Regions from separate parts of the Homo sapiens genome. Here region 2 is linked to region 1. The links are contacts of gene promoters, found by promoter capture Hi-C in human tissues and cell types (Jung and others, 2019). All regions are on one chromosome and are shown on one strand. The core of a region is centred on a gene start or on the middle of the fragment in contact, and the rest is flanking DNA. Distances in the headings are between cores, read along the strand shown.

Region 1 (4,049 bases), core at 902-3,401:
TTTATATATAAATTATTCAACACACATGTGAGGTTCAGTTGGACAAGGCCTCTCATTATCTTACTTTATAAGTCTTTGTGGATGTCTCTAAAACAGAATGGTTTATTAAACTAATTTGGGAAAGGAGAATTAGTGTGTATCTTTCTCTTTTTCTAAAAAAATATAAATACATTCTTGCACAAAATCAGTCACGTTTTTCACAATTGTCACCTATACAATGATATACGGTGAAATAATTACTTTAATAATAATTTGTCTGTTTTCTCTGCATCTGATTGAATTCTGCTCATAGCTCAATATTAGCTCCAGAAGGGAAAAAAATCTTAAGAGAGCAATTGAAAATGCATTTGTTGGCAGCAATTTCCATCCCTGAATGCACAGTAAGTTCTGAGCTTATGAGCTCAGAAAAAAGAAAAATCTTTGTGATAAATAATGCATTTGATAATGAGCAGCAGGAGAAAAAAAGTGTTTTCTGTTGAAGAGTTCAAAATGAAATAGAGTAAGTATGGGAAAAGGTTGCTCAGTATGAAGGACATCTTTCGCATCATGGATGGGTATGGAGCCACAACAGCCGTAACTGTTTATTTTTTATTCTCATTCTCACCATGCCAGTCTGTGGCATATATTTTCAGACCTTTCGTGAATACCAATTTTCAAAAGGGTTTAGTTCTCAGATTCTATGTCACTGGATGATTTACTTACATGACCTCATTTAACCTTTTCAACTCTACAGATAGGAAAGTATGAGTATCCCCATTTTATATATGAATAAGCTGAGAGGAAGGTTAACTCACTCCCTCAGGCTCATAGAGCTTAGCCGACATCTGAGTCAGTGTAAATTAAATAAATATCAGGGATTTCAAAATAAGTGTCTAAAATACTATTAAGAACAGAAAGCTTTAAGCTCCTTCAAGTGTCTGGCTTGCCGCGTGACCTAGACTCTTAAGTGGAGCGTCAGCTTCCAGTTTTTGACCAAATAAAGCATTTATCCCATAGGAATATTAAGGCACCCATTTACTTTTTTCTCCCCATTATCCCATTTGTCCCCAGAGCAATGTGGGTGTTTGGCAGGTGCCAGACAGTAAATTACTGTTCTAAATTGTGCCTCAGTGGCCCAATAATATTAAGGAAGCATCTCCCACAGTGTCAATCTGTAGACAAGGGAATAATTAATGTATTTATCAAAGCAGATGGATTTCAGAGGAATGTGAATCCTGCTCTAAGCACAGCATCAGGGTTTGTTTTTTTTTTTCTGGAGTTTAGTGAACTGGGCTTTGTAACTTCTTACCTGATTATTTTGCTGCCCTGTTTGTCCTTCCTTCTTTCCCTTTTTAGCAGTTCTACTCTGTGCTTCAACTTTTCATCCCCTTATTAAGACTGCTGCATAGAAAACGTAGGAGTCTGGAGACAGGCAGGCAAAGTGGGGAGTGAGGAAGGGAAAACAAACATTCTGAGAAGGAACTGTTCCGTCCCCCGAGCTGACAGCGCCCGCTCTTTGTTTTGTGATGACTGCTCCCTGGCCTTTTGGTTCCGAGGGAGTGCAGGGCAGCAGTGTGAAGACCTGTTTACGTCCACTCCCCACTCCCCGGGGCTGGCTTCGGGACGAATTCACTGTGGTATTAACAGAGCCCGGGACAGAGCCTGGCAGAAGGCAGATGGATGCTCGTGCCCGTCGGCTGGATGAATGAAAGGTGAGCAGCAAAGGCGATACCAGGATCGTCCACGGCGGGACTGGAGGAGGAGAATGGGACTGTGCGGAGCCTGCGGGAAGAATCTGAAAGTGTCTGTGTGATGGAGAGAGACATGGAAAAGGCGACGTCCCAGCGGCTGGAACTGGGGCGGAGGAACGGGAACAGGGAAGGCCTGAGTTAGGCACCACAAAGGTTTTCAGGAGAAAAGTGGGGCGAGCCGAGAGGGTAAGGGCGAGACAAAGAGCAGCAGCCGAGGCTGTTCGTGGGAAGAAATGGGAAAGAAGCAGCCGGGAGGGCGGGCGGACGGACGCGAAGGAAGGGGCGCGGGTGGGGAGGGGCGCCGGGAGCTGGGCGGGGCGGGGCAGTGCGGGGCGCGGGGAGGCGGCTCGGGGCTCCGGGGGCCGGAGGGGCCCGGCCGGGCGTGGGGGGGGCGGGGCGGGGCGCGGGCGCCGCAAAGTTACTTGGCCTGCGCCCGCCCGGGTCCGCGTGCTGGTGGCTGGCCCGCGGGAGGAGCGAAGCGGGGCTCGGTGGGCTGAAACCCGAAACCTCCAGTCCCGGAGCGCGGCGGGGAGGAAGGAAGCGGCGGCGGCGGTGGCCGAGGCGGGGAGGCGGCTGGGCCGGGGCCTGAGCTGCCGCGGCGGCCGCTCCTCGGTGAGCACCCGGCGTGGGGCGCGGGCGCGGGCCCGGGCGGAGAGGGCGGTCCGGATGGAGCCAGGCTAAACTCATTGTGCGAGGCTGAGGGCTCAGGGCGCGGGCCGGGAAGGGTCCCCGCCCCCACGGCGCTCCCTTTCTCCCCGCGCCCCTCTCGGAGGTCAGGGCTGTCCTCCGCCCGCACTGCGCCTTGCTTTGGAGAGCTGGAGCTCTTTGTGGGAAGATGTTGGGGGCGCGCCCCTCCCCTGCGGCCTGGGGCTTCTGAGAGGCCCACCCCATTCTGCTGGGTGCAGCCCGCCCCGTTTCTCCGGCGCCGCCCGAAGCCCCTAAACAGTCCGCTGGATGGGAGGGCGTAGGTGCGTGCCCGGGACTCTGCCGATGCGGGCCGCGCCCCCTGGGGCCAAGAGACTCCACGTCCCGCTCAGGGCAAAGGGTGTGGGGAGAAGCGGTCACGCCCCTCGGCTGGAATCCGTGAGGACCAGGTGAGCAGCCTTCTCCCAGCCGGGACTCAGGGCGCTGTCTCCCCGAGCCTGGGCGGGCGGCGGGTGGCGCGCCCAGAAGTGGCCCGGCGCCGCCGGATGGGCGGCTCTGCCCCTCAGATCTGCGGGAGGGAGATTCGGCTGGTTCTTGGAAAGGGGAGAACTCGACCAGCCCTCGGCGCCTTCTGGGCCAAGCTTAACCCCCGTGCAACCTTTGGACAAAGGCATATGGGATGAGAACGTCTGTTGGGTAAGTGGGGTGTGTCCTGTGCTTCCCGGAGGTCTGCTCACCAGTAACCACATAGCTGCGCATTGGCATCGCTTTATATCACATCTTGGAGGCTATTTTTGCTTGTTATTGTACTTTCATCCCTTTTGCAAAGTGCTTTCATAGAGCAGGTCATTTGATCCACCTCCCGGTGAAGCCGTGAGGAGGTGTGTGGTTTTGGAGGGAAAGAACCTCAGTTCCTTGATTGTCCAATGGAGACACCGATAACCTCCGGTGAGCCTGTCTCAGCGTCCTAGGGGCTGGGGGAGGATGGCCATCCTTGTGGCTCCTCCGTGGAGCCAGGCGTGGATTCAGCCTGGCTTCTTCTCCCCTAGTGACCTGGACCTCCAGATGAGTTCTGGAGAGCTACTGCTTCGGGGAATAGGCGGTTTTCCCTTATAATCTATTTTACTGCAGCCACTGGGAGCAAGTGAAGAGAGGCATTTTTCAGGCCCTCAGGGCAGAAAGAGGAGGTGGGAGGGACCTCAGGTCATAGAGACAGAGGCTCTTCAACTGTAACTGGAATGCATGGCACCCATTTCTGTTACTTCTTTCAGAGCACCTCTCTTCCGGTCCTCCTCCACACCCGTCTTATTTTATACTTGTCAGGTGCTTACAAGCACTTTCATGTACACTTTTTCATTCACACAACAACCTTGTGAAGCTCTACTAGCCCATTTGATAGGTGAGGAAACTGAGGCTCAGGAGAGATGAAGCATTCTTGCCCAGCTAGGTAAGCAGCCCAGATTGAACTCAGATCTTTTGCCTTGGTAGTGCTTTTCACGTGGTTTCCTGATGGCACACAGGTGAGTTCTTTAACTCAGGGCTTCTCCCTGCCCTGTAGCTCCACTGCCATAACATCAAGAATAGAGACCCCTCATTAAGAGGCCCGCTTGACATTTTGGAACTAATCCAAGGCCGCAACGATATCCGAACCGTTCTCTTTGTGTTGCAGCCTGG
Region 2 (4,049 bases), core at 693-3,192, 380 kb after region 1:
CTTATTGCCCTATCTAAAACCTTTGAAAGTTACTCCCTGCTAAAACCTTTTTTTTTGTTTTTTAACAGTTTGGCTTTTGGAATGCCTCTCCCTCTTGATTCTCTTATCTCATTGACTGCTCCTTCCCTGGTTCTCCTGACCTCTATATGATTAAGAGCCCAGATCATTTCTCTGACTGCGTATCTATTTAACATTCCTTCTCTTGGTGACCTCACTCAGTTTCAAATGCTGATGACACCTGTACACACACACACACACACACACACACACACACACACACACACACACAGCCTATTCAACTTTGCTTGGATGTAATTGGCATCATCTCAAATTTAATATGTCCAAATTAAACTCCTGATTCCCACCCCCCAAACTTCCTTTCCATGGTCTTCTCCAAATCAGTAAATGGTAACACCAGTTTTCTAGTGGCTGAGACCAAAACCCTGGACTGTTTTGTGACTCCTCTCTTTTGCACAACTTTCCTCCAAGCTGTCAGCTACACATGTCATCTCTACTTAGAAACCTATCTAGAGGGGCCGGGTGCGGTGGCTCACGTTTGTAATCCCAGCACTTTGGGAGGCCAAAGTGGGCGGAACACCGAGGTCAGGAGATCAAGACCATCCTGGCTAACATGGTGAAACCCCGTCTCTACTAAAAATACAAAAGAATTAGCTGGTGTGGTGGCGGGCGCCTGTAGTACCAGCTAATCGGAAGGCTGAGGCAGGAGAATGGCGTGAACCCGGGAGGCGGAGCTTGCAGTGAGCTGAGATCACACCACTACACTCTGGGCGGGGTGACAGAGCGAGACTCTGTCTCAAAAAACAAAACAAAACAAAACAAAAGAAACCTATCTAGAAATTGATCTCTCTCTGCCTCATTTGGTGTCACCATCTTGGTCCAAGCCACTGTCATCTTTCACCTGGATTAAGTATTGATAGCTTCCTAATTGGTGTCTGCCTCCTTCAGCCTTCCCCACTTCACAGCAACTAGTCCACAGAGAGGCCAAAGAGATCTCATTAAAATTCAGGTTGGATCATATCACTCTTCTACTCAAAATCCTCTATGGGTTTCCCATCAGCCAGATCAGGCCAGTCCTCAAGTGGCCTACAAAGTCCTACATGAGCTAACTCCTGGCTACCTCTCGGACCTCATTGCCTACCCTGACCCCCTCAAATATGTTGCAGCAGCCACCCTGGTTACCATGTTTTTCCTCTGCCTATTGTGAGTGTACCCCAGATAGAGAATGCTATGGACAAAGAGACCAAAGGTATCCCAGGAAATCACGATGCCATGAGAGACAAGGGAAGAGTGGCCAACTGTGTCAAATGCTGAGAGCTGGGCACTCTGCGTAGTTGATTGCAGCGAGAAATTTCAGTGAAGATCCTTGCTTAAAACTGCACATGGTTTCCTTGCACACAGCATCTAAAATCCAAATTAACTTTTGCCAAGCACAGAGCCGCAGTTTCTGACCAACTACGGTGAGCACGAATGGCATCTTGTCAGAAGTGTTCTCCTGTGTGGGTAAAGAGAGAAACTAAATCACAGGTTTCCCTCTCAGGCTGTATTCTATGCAGTCCAAGCAAGGGATGAGTTCACTGGTTTCTTAAACAATTGGGAATGATTTGCTTTGTCCATTCCCCTGCCTTTTTTTAAATGACTAGGAGTATTATGGGAATACATAGTAAAATTATTGTTGAATTCAGATAGCTCATCCACAGAGTCATAAAAGAGAGTTTTTAGGGGCTAGTTAAAATGGCTAAAAATGCAAATGTAAAGACCATTGAGATATACAGAAACTATTGTTCTAATCTACATTCCATGTCACTGAAGACTAGAATCTCAATCTGAATAAGATATTAAATAGGTTTCTTTGAGGCCAAGGATTTATAATTATGGCATAGTGGCAAAAATGGCTGTGAAATGTAGTAAAGCTTTGGTTCAAAAACTTATAGATGGATTTAAAAAAGTCTGTTGATTCCTGAATAAAACCAATTGCTTTGGGAATAAAAACACAGAAATGAAATGAAATAAAATAGATTAAATGATATACAAACATTTTCATATCCTGCCAACTTTGGATTCTGAGCTCCATGTAAACTTGCATACAAACTTCAACATGGAAATGAGAGCTGAGCTTACTTTCTCTCTGGGGAACGGTTCTATAAGGAGTACCGAATCCTGCTGAGTTATGCTAGAGTTTAAAGGGCAAGAATATAAACAAATAAAATCCAAACAACCCTTCTCTTAGAGTACTCTGGAGAATAAGGTTTCTAAAATGTACCATGTTGCTCAAAGGTATCATTTAGCAATGAAGTGACACTGACCCTTAAAATAGGAAATCAATTCAAATGAAAAAAGCCCGCAAAGTCATTTGACAAGTAATCAAAAAGTCTGTGGAATCATCTGACTAGGGGTCATTTTTACAATAATCAAAGGATATTCAAAATGTAATATTCTTACAATTTGGATGGACAACCAGAACATTTCAGAAAGAAAAAAAAAAGCAAAGATAGAAAACAAAACAATATCCATCACAATCACAAAGAAAAAGGCAAATTCAAGAATGGTTCACCTAAGAGTCTATTTCCTGACATGACTGACCTATTTCAATATTCTGAATTACTGAAACAATAGAGTAAATAATGTCTCCCAACTACATGCCGAGATGATCTTACTCCAAGTAAATTCAAACTCTCATACCATAAAATAATTTGAAATACACTGTGGCAGTATTATTAGGAACAAATAAACACGTTCACAGCAGGGAACATAGGCAGGGATCTTGAAGCTGTTACTGGTTGAAGCAATTCAATGTCATGTTACTACTGGGTCCATTTATAGCATACTGGTTTGTAAAAACCTTATCTTTTTTTTTTTTTTTTGAGACAAGAATCTTGCTCTGTTGCCCAGGCTGGAGTGCAGTGGAGCGATCTCAACTCACTGCAACCTCCACCTTCTGGGTTCAAGTGATTCTCTGGCCTCAGCCTCCTGAATAGCTGGGACCACAGGGGCGTGCCACCATGCCTAGATAATTTTTCTATTTTTTTTAAGTAGAGACAGGGTTTTACCATGTTGGTCAGGCTGGTCTTGAACTCCTGACCTCAAGTGATCCACCTGCCTTGGCCTCCCAAAGTGCTGGGACTAAAGGTGTGAGCCACCTCACCCAACCTCTAAAAACCTTATCTTTTTAACACACCTTGTTAAGGTTTTCCTTGAAACTGAAAAAGGCTTTTGTTTTGAATTTTTTTAAGCACTTTGATGTTACCACTATAAACTCCTGCTTAAAAGAGTACAATCAAGCAATTTATTTAAACAGCGTTCTGACCTATCTCTTGTTCTTTGTTGGTACACAGCAAGAGTCTGATACTGTAATATCTCCTAATAAGCATAAATATGACCTTTTAAAACATACTAGAAGAGAGGAACAAAAGAGAACACTAAATACAAATTCAGGGTAGTAGTTACAACTGGGACAGGGTGGAGGAGGCAGGATGTGAAAGGTACACACTATTGGTAATGTTTTATTTCCTAGGCTGGTCATGAGTACATGGGTGCCCATTTTAATACTGATAGTGTAAACTGTACACACATACACTCTTTGGTATATATTTTACTTTTTACAATAAAAATTTTTAAAAAGACAGACACAGGAAGACATTAGTAAAGCAATAAAAGATTTACTTTTTAAGTTTCAGAATGCTCCAGTGAAAATTCCACACGATTCCCTCACAGTGTCTACTATGACTTCTACAATCAGGCTGGATAAAGTAAAGCTGACTCAATGACGTGTGCTGGTGGAGATAACACAGGCACAGAGCTGCCTTGCTGCCACTGTGGGGTCAGACTCAAATCTCTCCTGGGAACAGGGCCACCCTGCAGCTGAAGTGGGCTCTTTCCTCCCGCGAATCAGGGCTGCTATTGTGGACCTCTCTTGGCTGGATGGCACAAAGTAGGGGAAGGCTGCAAAAGTATCCTCCATTCAACAAGCCCTAAGTATTAATAAACTAAGCTTTTCATTAGTCAGGAACACACTCTTCTGCACTCTTTGT

The links. The method cuts DNA at HindIII sites, captures the fragments that hold promoters and counts their contacts. A contact is called where the count stands out against the background at its distance.
Region 2: a fragment that was not itself captured here is called in contact with the fragment with the promoter of GPR161 in region 1 in 2 of the 25 tissues and cell types used here (IMR-90 fibroblasts and aorta).

The regions. Positions count from the first base shown.
Region 1 is chr1:168,135,032-168,139,080 of GRCh38, reverse strand. It overlaps GPR161 (G protein-coupled receptor 161), which reads left to right and starts at 2,151. Exons shown (of 6, transcript NM_001375883.1): 1 at 2,151-2,342. RefSeq lists silencers at 1,456-1,750, 2,279-2,508. The HindIII fragment of the contact is 4,691 bases long and covers 1-3,700 here.
Region 2 is chr1:167,756,988-167,761,036 of GRCh38, reverse strand. All of the region lies in intron 1 of MPZL1 (myelin protein zero like 1), which reads right to left. Among named protein-coding and RNA genes, the nearest start is that of MPZL1, 37 kb to the right of the region's middle. The HindIII fragment of the contact is 7,982 bases long and covers 1-4,049 here.